Linked DNA regions of Homo sapiens: all the other regions are linked to region 1. Evidence: promoter capture Hi-C in 16 types of primary human blood cells and fetal thymus (Javierre and others, 2016). All regions are on one chromosome and are shown on one strand. The core of a region is centred on a gene start or on the middle of the fragment in contact, and the rest is flanking DNA. Distances in the headings are between cores, read along the strand shown. Region 1 holds the start of CHRM3-AS1 (CHRM3 antisense RNA 1). Region 2 overlaps CHRM3 (cholinergic receptor muscarinic 3). Region 3 overlaps CHRM3 (cholinergic receptor muscarinic 3). Region 4 overlaps CHRM3 (cholinergic receptor muscarinic 3). Region 5 overlaps CHRM3 (cholinergic receptor muscarinic 3). Region 6 overlaps CHRM3 (cholinergic receptor muscarinic 3). Region 7 overlaps CHRM3 (cholinergic receptor muscarinic 3).

Region 1 (2,700 bases), core at 62-2,561:
TTTTTCCCATATCATCACTTAAAAAAATAATTATTATTATAGACGTAGAATTAATTTAGACTTCTAGAAAAATTTATACGCTTTTAATTGGTTCAGCAGGTTTAAAAATCGAGAGCCCTCAAACATTTTTCCCAAGTAGGTACTGCCCGGTTGGCTCAGAGGACATGAAATGAGTTTATCTCCTTGGAATTCATTATAACCAGAAGCCTCACATGTATATTGGCCTTGTCCGTTTCTGTAAGCAATCTCACATGTATTTCACACTGGATATTTACACATTTTTAAATTTTTTAAATTTACCTATATATTTCACAGACTTATAACCCCAGAAAAGTTATTTTTTGCCATAACTAGGGGGAAGAAGGCAAATTTCCTAGAACTAACCTTCAATTTCTCCTAAATTCAGTACTGTCAAACTTTTTTGTCTTTTTTCACATTTTTTGTTTCACCCTCTTCTTTTAAATATTAATAAAAGATGTCAAAATATCCACTGCAGTGGCTTTCCAACATTATTCAACACAAAATACATTGTACGTACATCATGACTATAGACATAATTTTATACGTGTGTGTATGTCGAGCAAAAATTTAATGAAGTGATATTGATTGTCATTATGTGGTATGCATTCTGATACGTCCTATTCAATTTGCTGTACATTTTTTTCTTTTTTAATTCTCATATTGGCCCACTAATTGGCTCTTGCATTTTGAACTCAGTGTGTGTGTGTGTGTGTGTGTGTGTGTGTGTATATACACACACGCATATATATCTATTGAATTTAGTGTGTGTGTATATATACATAAATACATATATACATATATAAACACATATACATATACACACATATACATATATACACACATATCTATACACATGTATGTATATGATATGTATATACATACGTATATATGTGTGTATATATACTCACACACATGTATATATACACACATACCAAGTTCAAAATGCAACAGCCAATTAGCGGACCAATTAGTGTGTGTGTGTAGTGTGTGTGTATATATATAGTAAGTTCAACATGCAATGTATATATACACTAAGTATATGTACATTGTATATAAGTAAGTATACTAAGTACATAGTATATATACACGATATAAGTACACTAAGTATATCGTATATATATACTAAGTATATATACATACACACAGATGTAACTTCCCCACAAAGGCACTGATGGTACCCACGTGCAGGATCTTGCGCAGTTTTCCACTTCTTGCCTGAGCTCTGGTGCCTGGAACACTTCAGTAACCATTCCCTGAATGTTGCACCCACAACCTGGCAGGGAGGGAGCCTGCTCTGACCCCAGAGAGGAGCCAGGCACCTGCCCCTGGTCTGCCCCTATCTGACCATGCCCTGAGCCCTCATGCAGGCTGCATTCCTAGAACTCTTGCCTGGGATTACTTATAAAGTGCGAAGGTCACTGGGCTGACAAGGATCTCTGTTCCCACCACCTGTTTATTCCTGAGCATTACAAGGAAAGACTTCCTGTAGGTCCCCTCACCAATATCATTCAATTCAATGAGTGTAGACTGTGAACTTCCTTGACTCAAAATATCCTAATGCTATGGAATAGCTGTTGAGTCAGGATGAGGAAGGAATATTAAACATAGGAATGATACCTTCTACTCAGAAAATCACCGTAAACTGAGGGCTCTTAGCCCGGGGTTATCACTGCTTCATTTGGGTCTGACCTACAGTCTTGATTCTCAGGAAGTTACATATTACCTATGAAATAATAGATATACCTGAAGTAAAACATTTGGTGACTCTCATTTCTAATAAGTACTTTTAGATATTCTTTTTTTTTTTTTTTTTTGAAATCCTTATGACCGGCTGATCACTTTCTCCTGTTGTCATCCTGGGTACCGATAGGACCTCCGTTGCTGAGCCTCCAGAGAACAGTCCTTTTAATGAGGCCGTGGCCCCAAGGCCTCGGAGAAGTTCATAGAAAATGTCTGAAAGAAGGTGGGAGGGATCTTGTTTCCTGGCCCTATAGGGACATTGTCTTCCTTGATAAAGCTGGGTACAGCCTTGATATGAATAGATTGGGGAGCACCAGGAATGTACCTCACCTGGGCTGTCGAGAAAAGACAGTGTGCTCAGAAGAGGTATGGCAGGTGCTGAATATTCCCTTGGAGGGACGAAGGCAAGAAAGGCCCCTACAGCAATGAGGGGAGAAAATCCACAACCCAAGTAGAACTAGGATTTCTTATGTGTGAGACAATACATTGCTCATTTACATGTAAAGTGTGTATAATATTTTTAATCCATCGTATTCAGGCGAGCAAGATCAGTCATTTCATTTTTGTATAACTTGCCTCGAAGCTGCCTGTTGTGGCCCCATTCTGCATAGCAAATCACCACAAACTTAGCAGCTTACAACAAGGTTCCCTGTTCAGGGTCTCAACACTGAAATCAAGGTGTTCGCCCAGCTGAGTTTACGTCTTAGGCAAGACTAAGGAAGAATTCATTACCACAGGCATTCAGGTCATCGGTGCTTCTGCCATGGTGACCTAGTGACCTCTGAGCAGCTGCCACCTCTGGGCACCAGACAGGAGGGCATGAGGCACGCATCTTCTTTGAGTCTGATCAATATTATCAGATGCGACCTCTTTTTCCTCCAACCTTCTCCGCATTTAAAAGCAACAGCAGAGTGTAAGGCAAGATTCCAAGCCCTCCTT
Region 2 (2,700 bases), core at 144-2,643, 420 kb before region 1:
ACTATAGGCAGCAAGAATGGTACCCACAGAGATGGAGAGGGAGAAAAGTACAGCTATGTGTTGGAGTAATAGAATCTTTTGGGGGAAATAATGAACTGGTAAAGTAAGTGGTGCTGTACTGTGGAGTGGAGGGAAGTGATTGATAACTTTTGAACAAGGTGAACTTCAAACATAACATAGCTTCATAGCTTTAGGAAGATTAATCCAGCAAGAAGTTCTTCTTCTTTTTTATTTATATTTTTTTGGAAGCATGTTTCGAAGACAATTCTTTTTTCTATTACAAAGGCTTATTTTTTTCATTTTCTCTTCTTTTATATTCTCCCAGACACCTCACCTATGTTCTTGCTCAACTTCTTAGTTTTTTCCTTTCTCTCCTCTGCTGGCACTTCTGCCCCTGCCTCGGGTATGACAGTAACAGCCCAGAGACACCCACATGCTTTTATGAGCCACTCTGCTTACTCTTAGAACAAGCATTTTCACACACTTCTGTTGAATATATCATGTCTCTTTTCTGCATGACTTTTTTTTGAAACTTCTGTCCACGTGGACATGCGACTGTGATGGGAAACACTGTGGCTCTTTAGGGGAGAAAAGCACCCACAAGACTGGAAACCAAAAGAGTTTTCAAGCTTCTACTCTGCAAAGTCACAGGACTGTGTTTGGAAAGCCAAATATTCTGGTTGAGCTATAGTTTCTTTCATCAGCAAAAACAAGATAACCTTAACGCCTAGAATACCTCTCACATCACTACTCTTCTCCTCACTGTCAGTTCACGGGCCTAACCCCTAGTCACTCTTAGTATCTCAGATTATTAATATACCACTGCCTCCAGGGAGCCTTCTCTGACTTCCCATACCTAGGTTACTCCTACCTAGCTCTCAACCGTAGAATTCTCTCATTACACTGAATTGCAATGGCTGGTTTGTCTATGTTCTTTCTTAGACTGTAAATTTCATATGGTTTTGTATCATATCTTTCATATTTATCCATTATGGCCGGTACCTAGCTTAGTGGCTAGAAATTAGTAGACTGTCAGTAAATATTTGTCAAATGATTGAATGAATAATATGATAAGAATTTATGGTATTTCATCTTTGTTTATATGAAACTAAATGCCTCGGAAATTTTGATATGCCTTTAATATTTTACTGTATTCTTATACTTCTAAAGCATTTTGCTCTCCCTCCTCCTGCACTAGAAAGCCACCGTGCTATTCGCTTCTGATTTCACAATCGAGTTTGTAAAAGACACTATTTGAATCAAATGGATCTCTTTAGAGTTGCTTTTTGGTTTGGGTTCATCACCATCTGAAATAAATATGAAGGGGAAAAGGGATAATTTGAGGACACTAGTTTAAAATAGCCTAATTAACAGTCTTGATAAAGTGTTTGAAAAAATTACTTCACATTCTTTCTACATTTTCTACATTCTAATTATTCTAACCTTCATTGTACAGGAAGATATTAAAGATTTACTAAGATGAGGTTCAGAAGTGTTGTCCCAGTAGAAGACTGTTAAGAAGCTCTCATTGTCATAAGCTCTCATTGGAATTCCAAACAGCTCTTCTGTAGCTTCTGTAAAATTAGCTAATCATGCTGTTCTTGGATTCCCAGTTTTGGTTCTCCATTTCCTGTGTACGGTCCTGGAAGAGGCTCTTCACTATTGGACTTCCCTATAAGGTTGAGCTCAAGGAGCCTAAGATGGTTGTCCCTCCAAAGAGAGGGTTTGCAGGAGCAACTAGAAGTAGTTTGCCCTTCTTCTGCAAGGCTTTTTCAACTGTGAAATCATTTTGACAAGATGCTTTGTCATATGCTTGACATCTTTTTTTCTTTTTTAATGAGGAAGTGACTGAGAGATAATTTAATCTGAAATGCTGCCACCTACGTAGCTAGAGATTAATTGGATACTGTCTGAAAAATTATTTGAGCACCTCAGAGACAGAGTCTAAGTAAACAGAAAGTGGTGTTAATAAAGTAGAGACAAATTATGACTCTTCCCCATCTACTTAACCAGGTTGTTGGCAAACCGCTCCTGTTTCTGAGTATCCTTAAATAGGCTAAAATGACAATTTGATATTGCAGCAAGTGTGGATTTTACACAACTAGGATATTGTTGTCTCCTTCTAGCACAGTTATGAATTTGGCTACCTTTCTCTTGGAAGCTTATTTTGTACAGGAAGGAAAACAGTAATTTAACCACAATGGACTTTGTTGAAAAACATAATGCTATTAACGAAGTAAGTGTGTAGTCTTTTCAGCTTTGAAATTTTTCCTCAAGATCTCCAAAAGATCTTTATTTTAAAATGTTTCTGGATGTATTCGTTCTTTCTTGTGTTTCTATAATTGAATACCTGAGACTGAGTAATTTATAAAGAAAAGAGGTTTAATCGTTCACGGTTCTGCAGGCTGTACAAGCATGGCACCACCATCTGCTCAGCTTCTGGTGAGGGCCTGAGAAAGCTCACAGTCATGATGGAAGGTGAAGCGAGAGCAGGCATACCACTTGGTGACAGCAGGAGCAAGAGAGAGAGGAGGTGCCATACTCTTTTAAACAACCAGGTATTCCATGAACTAACTGAATGAGAATTTACTCATCACCAAGGGGACGGTGATAAGCCATTCATGAGGGTACTGCCCTCAGGATAAGGTACCTCCCACCAGGCCCCACCTCCAACATTGGAAATTACATTGGAACATGAGA
Region 3 (2,700 bases), core at 183-2,682, 460 kb before region 1:
AATTTGTTATAAAGCTGTTTGTGTGTGTAAGAATCCATACACTTCTTATCAGCTGAACTATTGCCTCACTTTTCCAAGCACAGATGTGAAGTATTTAAAAGTCTTTGATAGCAAATATATGTTTAAGAGACATTAAAATAAAATTCCAAATACATGATTTATGTTTTAAGCATTCAGTATTATTTGATTTTCATTTATACCTAGAAAGGAGATAGACCACATACTAATTTTCAAAATGTACATAATATGTATCTCTTCTCAAATGCTTCAGTTCCACAGCAGGGTTCAGCGTCAGGAGGTTGTCTAATATTGTTTGTCATTAAAGACAGTTTAAATATACGTTAGGTTTTTTTTTTTGAGATAGTTTTAATTCTCGGCTCACTGCAGCCTCTGCTTCCTGGGTTCAAGCAATTCTTGTGCCTCAGCCTCCTGAGTAGCTGGGATTACAGGCACCTGTCACCACGCCCAGCTGATTTTTTGTATTTTAGTAGAGATGGGGTTTTACCAGGTTGGCCAGGCTGGTCTTGAACCCCTGAGCTCAGGCAATCCACCCGTCTCAGCCTCCCAAAATGTTAGGATTACAGGCGTGAGCCGCTGCACCCGGCCAAAATACATGTTAGTTCTTGATGCATGCATAGGTAGAGAAAACCCTTTTTTTTTTTTCTTTAAGAGTTTAAAAATTTTCAGGGTGAAAGATGTGAACTGTCTCTGGAAGCCAGTGTGTGAGGCCAGAAGCAGTGATATTTCTTTATCCTGCCCATGGGAATTTCAAGCGTAAGTGGGGAATTTGGATCAGACTCTTTGAGGTTGTTCTGAGAGTGCGTATTTTCACTATTTTGTTCTGACTGGAGAAGAGAAAAATATAAGCAGGGAATTTTTAAAAGTTGATTAATCTGATGACCCAGGTCTTATTTTGAGTTTACAAGGGACCCAGAAGTGGCAGATACTCAAGCATTTTCACACAGTCAACAGATACAAGAGGAGAAACAAAATGCTCATTTCACACTAGGAGCTCAAGTAGCGTCTTTTCTGGTGAATTCTCCGTGTGGAGTGAATTTCTCTGTCTGGCAGTGGATACATTAGTTGTTCCTGTGCGCGAGCCCTTGTGTTATGGGGTAGAAGGAACAATGACTGTAGTTTAATCAAGTCTGACGTCTTAATAAATGGACTGACAAATAAGGATAAAATACCAATTTTAATTTAATAGAGCCACCTATCCTTAACGTTTTTATTTGGCTGTGCCATGTATTTATTACTGCTTGATGGTTTTATGTATTTAATTTATAGTGAGATAACAAAGCTTATTTTATTTCATTTAATAGTGAATTACAAAAGTCTGAGGTAATTGTTCTCACATAAAAATATTTGAAGTGAATTTACAATATTTGTCTTTGCTCATGTGTGATTACAGTTTTTGGTGTTCACAGAGGATGAAAGTCATTTATGGGCAGTTGTGTGTTTGAGGAATAATCTGATGATTGTATAATTTGTCTTTCGTCATAGAGTCTCCTGATATGGTATTAAAATGAGAATTTCCTATTCAAGTTTCCTACTGTTTGCGAAGGGAAGCTTCTCTTTGTAATGTCACGAATGCAAAATTGATATCAATTTCTCTAAATAAATAATTATGAGAACATCAAATCTAGAAAAAAAAACTTCCAGTAACCTCCATTTATGTAAGCACAAATGAAGTTGAAACTGCAGAGATCACATCAAAGTGTCTGTGAAGAAAAACTGCTGCTAGGATAAGATTTTTCCGGCTGTTTAAGGTGCCTGTGACATGGAAAGCTGGAAATAATAAATCCAGACTATTTTGTTGGAAAGTGCTTACTTTAATGAAGAATCTGAAGAAACGCTTAGGAAAAGAAAATCTTAAGGGAAATACTTTTCTTCTTTTAGCATTAGTCGGTATAATATAAACGCTTAGGAGAAGAAAATCTTAAGAGAAATACTTTTCTTCATTTTAGCATTAGTCAGTATAATATTTTAACTCCTTGAAGGGTAGATATATCCAAAATTAGTTGAGTGAAACTTCACTCATCAGAGAAAATTGGAGAAACAGTAGAAGAGAATTGAAATCCACATTGGAGTCTTCCTTCACCCAATTATTTTACTTTGGCTCTTTTGTGTGAAATATGTGTTTCAGATTTTATAGTTTTCAAAATCCATCTATATTTATTGTCTTAATGCTTACCAAAAAAGTAGGCTGTGAGGTGTCTGCTCTTAGTAATTGCAGTCACAATTTTTGAGTACTGGGAGTCAGGCACCAGGCTCAGCATGTTGTGTGCCATCTCTGGGCCTTTCAAGAATCTCTCAGCTTCGTTTTAAGGACCCTGCCTTAGTCATGAGGAAAACGCCCGAGGCTGGCTGTGGGTCTTTGTTCAGGAGTCACGGAATTAGTCTGCACCAGACAAAATACAAAAGTCCATCCTATTCTATTTTAACTGTCTCCATATATTTTAAGTTGCTTCCTCTTGTACAATAAGATCTTAAAGTGTTAAAGAACACACATATTCTACTGAGTTACCATAGGTCACACAAAGATAAACAACACATTTTACAATATAGTAGGAGAAGCAGACATTTCATACACAACTGTAATAAAAAGAATGTTTTGAATGGAGGAGTATATACAATACTAGGGATTTATTAAAGAGGAAGCAATTAATTTGTGCTGGAGGGAATAAGAGAGACCATTTG
Region 4 (2,700 bases), core at 12-2,511, 440 kb before region 1:
AATTTAAGGTGATTTTCAAAATGACATAAAGTACAACACGGTAAGATTAAAGTAGATAAGGGAAATAATGATATAAAAATTAGCAGAAGCTAACAATGAGTTAACACTATCAATTTTCATGTATACTTAGAAGTGGTGGGAAACAAATGAAATTATAGTCTTTCAGTGATCAACACAAAAAAATGAAAATACAAAATAAAATGTAGTGTTCTTCAGGTTAGGAAAGATTCTTAGACAAATGTATAGTGATTCCTATGCTTCAGAGAGAAACTTCCATAGTTCCTCATAAAGAGACATTGTGTGAAGTAATGAGTATCATCTGCAATACAGCAAACACAAAAGTGAAATTCACTGGACTTTCTTAAAATGGCCTCCATTGGGATCTATAGCCTAATATTCAAGAAAAATACAACAAAGCAGTTCTTCTAAGAGCCAACATGACGGGGTCCATGTATGCAGCTCATTATTTTGGCTTGATTCAAGAATGAGATTTAGTGGATTTGGAGAAGAAAGTTCAAGGCTATATTTTCTGACAAATGCTTCAAGTCTAGATATCATGTGCCAATGAATAAGGAGAGATTTATATGGGTTATAGGTTCTGATCAAGATTATATTTAAAATTAAATGCGCTTTTTCCCCTTTATAGTATAATGAAGGCATTATAACTTAGAAATCATATATGAATCCTTCTGAGAGTAGATATCAACTGCTGCAGTTTTTGGTCAATATACATAGAAGATGGGGTGTTTGAATCTCAAGCTAGCTCAGGGGGAAATAATTTAAAGATGACAAAATTTGCAAAAGCTGATTCTATTTATTTATTTATTCAAATTACATTGTGGGACAACTGGTGACTGGCTTTCTTTCTACTTTCCTTTATGGCTCCTTTACGTGTATCTTCCTTCTGTTATGTGTATGTTTAACACAGATTCTGTACAAGCAAATCTTAATGTGCTTATGTGCGTGCCTCCATATACGCAAAGAAAAAAAAATTATCATTCTCTTGACAGGATGAGCTCCCTGGTGGTCTCTCTGGTTGATTTGCAATGTAATTTGACCCAGCAAATGCAAACATGGGCCCTTTCTCCCTGGAGATTTCTAATGTCATCTTCTATCCCCATTTTTCTACCTGTTCCTCACCACCGAGGAACGTGGACATCAGGACGTCAGCATATTCCATCTCCTCCTGTCTCCTCTGGGGACATGTTGGTTGGTTACATTCTGCCCTCCTTTCCTTCATCATCTCCCTTCTGACTAGCTCTCTTTCCCCTCAGCATTCTCAATTCTCTCCCACTTTCAAAAGCAAATAAATGAAGTGACAGGAAAAAATGACCGTCCAATGGCCCTGTCCTCTGGCCTCTCCACCCTTGGGTAATACCGCTTCTCTCAGCTGGATATAAATACTATTTCTAAAAAATTATCTTTAATTTACTCATGGGCTGAGTTTCTGTTTCCTGCATTCATTTAAATGTTACATAATTGTAATTTTTTATCTTTTTCTCTGAAACATAAAATGTCTAAGTGCTGAGTTTGCTTAAAGTGAGAATTTCGGTGATTTGGAGATATTTACTAAATTTGAAAACTGAGGATACATTCATTTTATTATTCCACAAGCAGTTTTATTTGAACAGAAGTATTTTCCTTTTCATTATATAAATTTGGGAGCAAGTAGAAAATGTCCCTGGGTTATACCAGGTTAGTCATATCCACGAGAACCAGTTTTTGTTATCCAAAGTTGATAGTATGTTTCAAAAGTCATGATTCTGAATCTTAATGCTCAAAAGGAAAAAAAAATTTTTCATATTGTTGTTCTTCTGCCAGAACATAAATACTTTTCTGTTTTGTTTTTATAATATAATGCATCCCAGGGATGTAAAAAACAGAATTTCAATTTGTACCTTCACACTTTTACAGCTGCCTGCAGGGTACGTGTAAAAATAATTTGACTAGAAGTTAACTTTTCTGGTAGATTAGGTTATCAAAATGATGATTAATATCAAATTACCTACAAATACTATAAAAGAGATAACTTTAGAATTTGTAAAATAAAGTCTTAGATTTACTTTTTGTACATACAGCATGTTTGAAGCTACAGGTAATTTTGTGAGATTTTAGCGTCCTAGCTCAAGTTTACTTAACAACTGTTTCTGCAGCTTTTTCCTTGATGCTTCACATTATATTAGCACACAGTTTTAAAATTCCATAGTGGGAAGTACACTTACACTGTTAGTGCAGACATTTTAGAGAATCAATTTCGGACATTTGTTGTTATATAACTCCTAGTTCAACTGGACAGAATTAATTCTCTGATCACCAGTCAGCAAATATATGAGGGGGAAGAATTTATAAGCCCTAATTTCTAGAAAAGGCAGTTTACTTTATGTAGCTAAAATGCATGGCTACATTTTTATATTAAACCAGACTGTGTATAACTAACTAATCGATTGAACAACACAGATAACAAAGTGAGGAATAGTCACACCTCCTTATAATGGTTTTGAGGATGAGATGAATAATAGTAAGCAGCTAGCACAGAGTTTGGCATATTATAGATACAGATAGAGTGAATACATGAATAAATAACCAGTGAGTATATTAATATTGGAATTGTATGAGGCATTATTTTCAAACCAAGGTCAGAATTTTTTGCTAGATGTAATCTAATTTTCATGCATTTTCTTGGTGAGTCTGAAAGGGTAT
Region 5 (2,700 bases), core at 122-2,621, 470 kb before region 1:
CGAGGTCAGGAGATCGAGACCATCCTGGCTAACACGGTGAAACCCCATCTCTACTTGAAATACAAAAAATTAGCCAGGCATGGTGGCGGGCACTTGTAGTCCCAGCTACTCGGGAGGCTGAGGCAGGAGAATGGCGTGAACCCAGGAGGTGGAGCTTGCAGTGAGCCGAGATTGCGCCACTGCACTCCAGCCTGGGCAACAGAGCGAGACTCTGTCTCAAAAAAAAAAAAAAAAAGAAAAAAAAAAGTCAAGCCAAATGCCTCTTTCTTTGTGGAGCTTTATTGAATATCCAGAGGCTATTCTTTTAGTTGCGCAATGTGCTTCCATAGATTTCGGCCACACATCTGTTAGTGCTCCTAACATACGACACGGCAATGAGTGGTGTATCCTCCTGGGTAGAACAGGCATTCCTCAGGGAGCTGCTAAGATTCTATGTGGCCGTGTAATCCTTGTCCCAAACACAGGGTCTAGAACATAATCATTCATTAATGAATATTTATTGAATTAAATAATGGGTTTTGAGCTAGGCTTGGAAATTAATATTAGATCTGCATTTGTGGTGGGGGTGGGAGGGTGTGAGGTCACCTCAGGAATGGGAACAACCTTGTGGAAACTGAAATGGACATGACATTTTGTTCATTCATTCAACAAACACTTGAATGTGCCAAACACTTGAGTAAAAGCAGATGTAGCTTCTTCCTCTGGGACTTACAAACTAGTGGGAGAAATCAACTTTCATCAAATATAACAGTAAATACACATTTGTAACTGATAAATTCTACAAAAGAGAGGGCTATGGTGCTCTGAGACAGTCTGACTTGGTCACAGAAGACAGAATATATGTGAAATTAGTGGAGAGCATTTCTGTGAAAAGAAGTAGTGTGTACAGACTCCACTCAATGGCCTAAAAGAAGGCTGTGGGGATGGAGGGGTACAGTGCTGGGATGTTAGGCTGAAGAAGCAAGTAGGGGTCAGATCATGTAGGGCTCTTTAAGCCACATCCAGGAGTGCTGACTTTCTTGTAAGAATAATCCAAACCATTGAGCAACCCTAAGTCCTAAAGACTGGTGTAGGGGTTCAGCAATCATCAAATGTTCCCATTGGCATTTTGCAAAGCTCATGCTGGGTGCAGAGTGGGTAATGCATGGGGGCACAGCCAGAGTGGATTCTGGCGGAGTGATTGACAGGCTTCTGCAACCATGCAGTTGAGAGATGATAGAAGCTTGGATGCAAGTGTAGTGACAGAAACAGAGAAGATGGACACAGTGGTTCACACAAAAAATGACAACTTCACTACAAGTGATTTAGCAGTGATAAGAATTAACATTGAATAGGAAATATTGGGGTTAAGCAGTGCAGGACTCAGTCTGTTGGGCCACATAGATCAAACCCAATACCTATGCTCATTGACATCTCTTCCTTTACCTGCGTTTTCCCTTTAATTCATTTACTCACTCAATCATTTATTCATTGAATCACTCATTCATTCACTCGGTATTTACTGAGGTCCTACTATGTGCCAAGCTTTATATCAAGTACTCCTGCAAATCTCAATTTTCCTTTCTTCTGTCTTAATTTATCCTAGCTTTTCTTACCAAAGTAAAAAAAAAAACTTCTTCCAAGAGCCCTTCACTGGTCTTCCCAGTTATGCATAAGCAGCCTTCACTCATCCTTTCCCCATTTGAAACGGCACAACACTCATGCATTAAGTTATTTGACTTCATCTGTAGGTGTTAAATCAACAACTTCCTTTTGACACTTGGTTCCTCACTTAACCAGAGACCCACAAAATAAAGGCACGTGGTAAACGATTGTTTCACTGAGCGAAACTAAATTAAAGAATACACAGGCAGGAAACTTCACAAAACAGAATTAAATTATCTCTAAATGATCATCAGGTTCTGATGATGCCCCTGGATTTCTTTATTATTACTAGTTTTGATAAATGATTTATTTTTCATGTAGAATTGTAAAACGCTCCATTCCTTGTCATTGTGTCGTTTCAGAAATCTCTGGTAATTTAGTTAACCTAACCTTCCCTGTGACATATGGGTCTCTTATAAAAGCCGTTCAGTGTTCTGCTGAAGCCAGCTCATACCAGCTCAGGAGAGCCAGTTGTTCACATCTTTTTTTTCCAGTAAGGCTATTTTTTTATTTTTATTTTTTATTGTGCTTAAATTTTAGGGTACATGTGCACAACGTGCAGGTTAGTTACATATGTATACACGTGCCATGTTGGTGTGCTGCACCCATTAACTCGTCATTTAACATTAGGTATATCTCCTAATGCTATCCCTCCCCCCTCCCCCCTCCCCCCTCCCCCCACCCCACAACAGGCCCGGTAAGTCAGGAAACAACAGGTGCTGGAGAGGATGTGGAGAAATAGGAACACTTTTACACTGTTCGTGGGACTGTAAACTAGTTCAACCATTGTGGAAGTCAGTGTGGCGATTCACAGCTTTTTCTAGCTCCTAACTCAATGATTTACTTTAGTAGCTTGAAATTGGCAATGTTGGGAGTATTTTTCACCATGGAAATTGGCAAATGCTACAAATCAAGGCTTTGACGTTTTCCTCTGGGAAGCCAGTCATGAATGACTTTCTAGCACGCCATTGCTTCGAACTCACCCCGCAAAAAAAAAAAAAAAAAGAAAGAAAAAATCCAAACCAAACCAAAACAAAATTAAGATGAGTGGGTTCA
Region 6 (2,700 bases), core at 12-2,511, 350 kb before region 1:
ATGTAAGCTTAAACTTTTTACCGAGTTTATGCTTTGCAACAGTTTAATTTTATTATACAGGGTATTTGATGTGCTTCCACTCACAGATGCACCATATTAACAGTTGGTGTATGATATTTACGGTGTTGTGGAAAGAAAATTAAACTCAGTCAGAAGATGTTAATTTCATTTCAGCTCCAGCATTTATCCTCATACTAGTCCCCTAATCTCTAGGCCTCAGTTTCTTCATTTGAAAAGTGAAAGGAATCGTTTCTGCTTTACCTAGTTCATAAGATTTCCTTTGAAGGTCAACAGAGGTAACGGATGTGAAATTATTAGCTAACTCTCAAACTCTGTAAAAATAAATGGTGTTGTCTGTGGTCAACTAACAGCACAAGTAGAGAGCTGGAAAAAGTTGTGACCATAATTGTCTCTTCCAATTAATTAATGCAGTCTACTATTTTATATGCTACTTGCCTAAGAGATAAATGATAAAATCCTCATTAATTTTAATTTATGACCCAAATTAATTTTTGGTATATTTGAGAAAATTATGTTTAAATGATATATGAGGAAACACATGTTTCTCACACACCCATGCACACACCAATCCCCACCAACCATAAGGAATTTCTGCTGCTGCTTCTCTCCATCGTGTTTACTCTTATTAGATTTTGTCTATTAGGTTTTTACACATGAAGGAGAAAGATATATTAGATACTTCTTATGTGTACTTTAGTTTCAAGATACTAAGGAAACAATGTAGGAATTTGGTGAGATTGTAAATATTATTTAAATATAGTATTTAATACATCTGTTAACTGAAATCATTTTAACATCTTCTATGACCATTCTCTTTAGCTAGGAGAATACAGCTAGCTTGTTTAAAATGAACAACTGAAAATGTAATCTTAACAAATACATTCAGTAATATTGAGAAAGACTTTTCCACTAAATTTAAACAAGTTATATAACCAGGCTTATGCAATGAAACTGGTTTGCAAATTCTAATTCCGGAAATTAGATATGATTTTCACTAGGAGGGCAGTGGTCTGTTACATGAATAAAATTTTTGCATATAAATGGAACGAAAATCTTAATAACAGGTAACATATTCACTGGCTAATATTGTAGCATAGTGCTGAAGTATGCAGGATCTATAGTCAGACTGCCTGAGGTTGCAACCCAGTTCCACCATTTTGTAGTTTTGCAAAGTTGGACAAGTCATTTAATTTCTCTGTGCTTTAGTTTGCACATTTGTAGAATGAGACTAATAAAAAGAGATCTATCTGATTGCATAGGCTTGTTGTATGGATTACATGAGTTAATATGGACGAGTGTTTGGGAGCAGTGTGACACTTACTAAGTTATCAGTCAGTTCCCTGGGGAGTGTGGGATTATCCTGATGAGCACAGATTTTAGAATCAGAAAGCCCTGGGTTCAAAGTCATTTATTAATTGTGAAGTTTTCAAAAACCTCAGTTTCTGAGAAATAAAAGGGAAATGATTATGATATAGTCCATACTGCCTTTGTTCAGATGGCTTAACACAGCATCCACACAAGGAATGGCAGCTATCCCCTTTGTCAGGCATTGTAAAGATATAATCACAAATCATTGTATAGTATGATTTTAAAATAATGTAAATGAGAGAACTTCTGAATTTGAAAATGTCCTTGCCACGTGTTATATTTAAAGGACTTTCATAAATGTGCTCAATTATTGATTTATTTTGTTAGATTCAGAATTTCAAAAATGATTAACAAATACTTAAACAACAAAATGCAAACATAGCTTGAGTATGGAATACTGAAATGACAAAAAAAAGTGGTTTATTAGGCCGATCAAGGAATATCAAATGAATGTTTAATTTATTTTGAATTTTGGACTGTCACCATGTTTAAAATGACTTTTTTTTTTCAGGAGAGAAAGAGAGCAAAAAAGAAAGGAGGTATAAATGTAGAAAATGTTTCACAAAGTGATGGGGAGTAAGGGCTTGAACTTTCACTTTCATAATCATGAGTTCTATATCAGACGTACGCTTGTTTTTATTATGAATCAACTTAAGATATTGTCCTTTGAGCTTACACTGGACAAAATTCAGTGGTTTTAGTGGGTGACATTTTCCAAATGAGTCATAATTTGTTCCCAAGGTGGAAAGTACTGATAACTTGGGGCAATATTTAGAGTCAAGAGCATGAGCCCATGTTTTATGTCCATCTCTCTAGTTGAGCCAGTTGCTGGGCTGACATGTATCACTCAGACCAGAAAGCCAAGTCTTATTCCCTCACTTCTTCCTTATAAACCATCTAAAACAATGACAGCGTTTGGTTTGTCCAACTCTGTCCATCTCTGTATGCAGAAAGTCTTTCACATATAAATTTAATCTGACTTATCTGACTTGCTTATAATTCAGATTAAAATGTTATCTTTGACTGCTTTGCACACACCCATTTATTCTTCTTCTTGTTTATTTTTGCAATAGCTTCTTCAGCCTTTATAGATTTTTCCCCTGATGAGGACAGTAGTGGTTATGGGGGAAGCTTTTGGGCATAAAGGCTTTGAGGGTGCATTTCTTGGTAAGAATCTACATGCTATGGACATGGGTACAGGCCTGGTTGCTGTGTTGCTGTCCCTTTGTGAGGGCCTGGGTGAGAGATGCCCATGGCACTGATGTGATGCTGTCCTGCCCTCCCAGGGCCTGCAGCATGCCATACTTCTAG
Region 7 (2,700 bases), core at 85-2,584, 490 kb before region 1:
TTTTAGTTGAGAAGGGGTTTCACCATGTTGGCCAGGCTGATCTCGAACTCCTGACCTCATGATCTACTCGCCTAGGCCTCCCAAAGTGCTGGGATTACAGGCGTGAGCCACCGTGCCTGGCTGAAGTTCTTTTGAAGGTCACATGTATTTTGTAAATTAACAGAGACTCCCTTGGTATTTTGACTAGTGTTCTGTTTATGTGAAAAAGTTCAAATAGGCTTTGCAAAATGAGATAGAGATGAATGCCCTGGTGGCTCCAGGAAGTATGCAGTTTTTTCAAATATGCGAGAAACAAACGCTTTATTTTCCAGTGATGACAGAAGAAACAAAGAAATTTGATACTCTCAGCCTGACTCCTTCCCTTGATCCACCATCAGCTATAGGAGTCCAAAGAAAATGAACTATGAACCAAAGTTAAATCCAACAAGTCACATGCACAGAACAAGATTAACATCACCATTAACATCGCCATTACTGAAGCGAAAGCTGGCCCAAACCCCACTACTGAGTAGCCCATCCTCATTCCAGCAAAGAAATAACTAACTCAGTAAGTCTTTTGGAAGACTCAGGGTCAGGGTGCCATATTGTATGTTTTCCAAGTCCAAACCAGACTAAGCTATAAAGAAGTAATGCCCACTGACCCTTTACATTTCTGCAAAGCCTCTCTCAATTACAGATGCTTTTATTGACTTCCAAGGTAGCTTGGCCAAGATCATTATAAGGCAGCTAGGTTCAGGAGGGGATAAAAAAATTGTGTAGCAAAGTCTTGACCCTAGATGTGTGTTTATAATCTACAAATATGTTAACTTGTAAAATAGAGTTGTCTGAGCCAAGTTGTTCTTGGGAATCAGAGGGTGAAGAAGCCAAATCTTTTTGGAGAGATACCAGGCATTTCTTCTTTTAAGGGATTTCACTTGAGAGATACTTTAAAGGACCAGTAAGGTCTAAATAGAGAAGAAGATCCAGGCAAAACTAACCTTACAAGTGAAAAACTTCCTGCTGTTTTCTTTTTTTGTTGTTGTCTCTATCAAGAACTTTCTGCCTCAGAGCCTTTACACTTACTATTATATCTGTTTGAAATGATCTTTTTCCAGAAGTCTATATAGCTTGCTTTTTCACTTCTGTTAGAGCTGTCCTCAAATGCCATCCGATCAGGCTGCGTTTTGTGATCACTTCCTCTAAGTGGCATGCGTCACTTTCATCATTCACCATCTTCTGAATCTGCTGTCCTTTTCTTCATAGCATCTGTCACTGCCTGACAAAATATATATTTATTTTTTCACTCACTGTCTGTTAACGCCCACTACAATATGAGCTCTATGAGACCAATGACTATAAATATATATATATAGAGAGAGAGAGAGAGAGAGAGAGCGCTAAATTTCCAGTTTCTAGAACGCTATCTGTCTCAGGAGGGTGGGCTCTTAATATATGCTAGCAGAATGAATGCTCAATCCCACTTTTATTTTTCTTATTGCAGAAAGGAAAACTGACAAACCCACCCTTATATTATTTCCCTCCAGGGCTTTTTCTTTTGCATATTTATATTGAAATCACCATTAATGCTGTCACTCACAATAAATTATAGCGTGGTACACCTGAAGAACAATGAACTAAATTAGCACATTCGATCAGATTTCCATGAATATGCCCAGCTTTGTTTCCATTAATGTTATTTTTCTATTAGAAGTAGATGAGAGAGAACCAACTTGTTAGTTTCTAATTAAAAAAAATTAATGTAAATGCTCATTGACTTAATTATGAGCATATACATTAAAAAGGAAGTAAAGAAATTCCTTATGACCATAAAGTGGAAGAGGAAGATGGAGAAGGGCTTTTCTGAATTTGGAATTCTAAAGCATACCTTAGGAAATCTGCAACTGAGTACCTACAAGGTACCACTATGTAAAATGTGATAGGCAATTGATATGGTTTGCCTGTGTCTCCACTCAAATCTCATCTTGAACTATATTTCCCATAATCCCCATGTGTGGTGAGAGGGACCTGGTGGGAGGTAACTGACTCATGGGGGTGGTTACCTCCATGCTGTTCTCGTAATAGTGAGTGAGTTCTCACGAGATCTGATGGTTTTTTAAGCGGCTTTCCCCGACTTCATTCTGCACGTCTCCTTGCTGCTGCCGTGTGAGGACAGACGTATTTGCAATCCCCTTATGCCATAATTGTAAGTTTCCTGAGGCCTCCTCAACCCTTTGGAATTGTGAGTCAATTAAACCTCTCTCCTTGGAGATCGAGACCATCCTAGCTAACACGGTGAAACCCCGTCTCTACTAAAAAAATACAAAAGAATTAGCCGGGCATGGTGGCGGGCGCCTTTAGTCCCAGCTGCTGGGAAGGCTGAGGCAGGAGAATAGCGTGAACCCGGGAGGCGGAGCTTGCAGTGAGCCAAGATGGCGCCACTGCACTCCAGCCTGGGCAACAGAGAGAGACTCCGTCAAAAAAAAAAAAAAAAAAAAAAACTCTCTCCTTTATAAATTACCCAGTCTTGGGTATGTCCTTATAGCAGCGTGAGAACGGACTAATACAGCAATCAAGACTATGTTGGCCCAGGATGCTCTTTTAAAAAATTATTTCTTTAATAGATGGGGTCTCAATCTGCTGCCCAGGCTGGAGTAAAGTGGCACAATCACGGCTCAGTGCAGCCTGACCGCTCAGACTCCCAAGTAGTTGGGACTACAGGTG

The links. The method cuts DNA at HindIII sites, captures the fragments that hold promoters and counts their contacts. A CHiCAGO score of 5 or more calls a contact.
Region 2: a fragment that was not itself captured here is called in contact with the fragment with the promoter of CHRM3-AS1 in region 1 in 3 of 17 cell types (non-activated CD4 T cells, activated CD4 T cells and monocytes); the score reaches 6.6 in non-activated CD4 T cells.
Region 3: a fragment that was not itself captured here is called in contact with the fragment with the promoter of CHRM3-AS1 in region 1 in 8 of 17 cell types (non-activated CD4 T cells, activated CD4 T cells, total CD4 T cells and 5 more); the score reaches 9.9 in non-activated CD4 T cells.
Region 4: a fragment that was not itself captured here is called in contact with the fragment with the promoter of CHRM3-AS1 in region 1 in 3 of 17 cell types (non-activated CD4 T cells, M0 macrophages and total CD4 T cells); the score reaches 5.6 in non-activated CD4 T cells.
Region 5: a fragment that was not itself captured here is called in contact with the fragment with the promoter of CHRM3-AS1 in region 1 in 12 of 17 cell types (activated CD4 T cells, non-activated CD4 T cells, total CD4 T cells and 9 more); the score reaches 16.2 in activated CD4 T cells.
Region 6: a contact is called between a fragment that was not itself captured here and the fragment with the promoter of CHRM3-AS1 in region 1, in 1 of 17 cell types (M1 macrophages). The highest score is 5.2, in M1 macrophages.
Region 7: a fragment that was not itself captured here is called in contact with the fragment with the promoter of CHRM3-AS1 in region 1 in 16 of 17 cell types (activated CD4 T cells, total CD4 T cells, naive CD8 T cells and 13 more); the score reaches 57.9 in activated CD4 T cells.

The regions. Positions count from the first base shown.
Region 1 is chr1:239,898,561-239,901,260 of GRCh38, forward strand. It overlaps CHRM3-AS1 (CHRM3 antisense RNA 1), which reads right to left and starts at 1,312. Exons shown (of 2, transcript NR_046582.1): 1 at 1,204-1,312. The region is part of intron 6 of CHRM3 (cholinergic receptor muscarinic 3); the gene reads left to right. The HindIII fragment of the contact is 7,774 bases long and covers 1-2,700 here.
Region 2 is chr1:239,481,771-239,484,470 of GRCh38, forward strand. The region is part of intron 1 of CHRM3 (cholinergic receptor muscarinic 3); the gene reads left to right. Among named protein-coding and RNA genes, the nearest start is that of CHRM3, 97 kb to the left of the region's middle. The HindIII fragment of the contact is 1,532 bases long and covers 628-2,159 here.
Region 3 is chr1:239,441,801-239,444,500 of GRCh38, forward strand. The region is part of intron 1 of CHRM3 (cholinergic receptor muscarinic 3); the gene reads left to right. Among named protein-coding and RNA genes, the nearest start is that of CHRM3, 57 kb to the left of the region's middle. The HindIII fragment of the contact is 269 bases long and covers 1,299-1,567 here.
Region 4 is chr1:239,460,627-239,463,326 of GRCh38, forward strand. All of the region lies in intron 1 of CHRM3 (cholinergic receptor muscarinic 3), which reads left to right. Among named protein-coding and RNA genes, the nearest start is that of CHRM3, 75 kb to the left of the region's middle. The HindIII fragment of the contact is 6,491 bases long and covers 1-2,700 here.
Region 5 is chr1:239,423,837-239,426,536 of GRCh38, forward strand. All of the region lies in intron 1 of CHRM3 (cholinergic receptor muscarinic 3), which reads left to right. Among named protein-coding and RNA genes, the nearest start is that of CHRM3, 39 kb to the left of the region's middle. The HindIII fragment of the contact is 302 bases long and covers 1,221-1,522 here.
Region 6 is chr1:239,546,087-239,548,786 of GRCh38, forward strand. All of the region lies in intron 3 of CHRM3 (cholinergic receptor muscarinic 3), which reads left to right. Among named protein-coding and RNA genes, the nearest start is that of CHRM3, 160 kb to the left of the region's middle. The HindIII fragment of the contact is 2,513 bases long and covers 6-2,518 here.
Region 7 is chr1:239,406,068-239,408,767 of GRCh38, forward strand. All of the region lies in intron 1 of CHRM3 (cholinergic receptor muscarinic 3), which reads left to right. Among named protein-coding and RNA genes, the nearest start is that of CHRM3, 21 kb to the left of the region's middle. The HindIII fragment of the contact is 7,375 bases long and covers 1-2,700 here.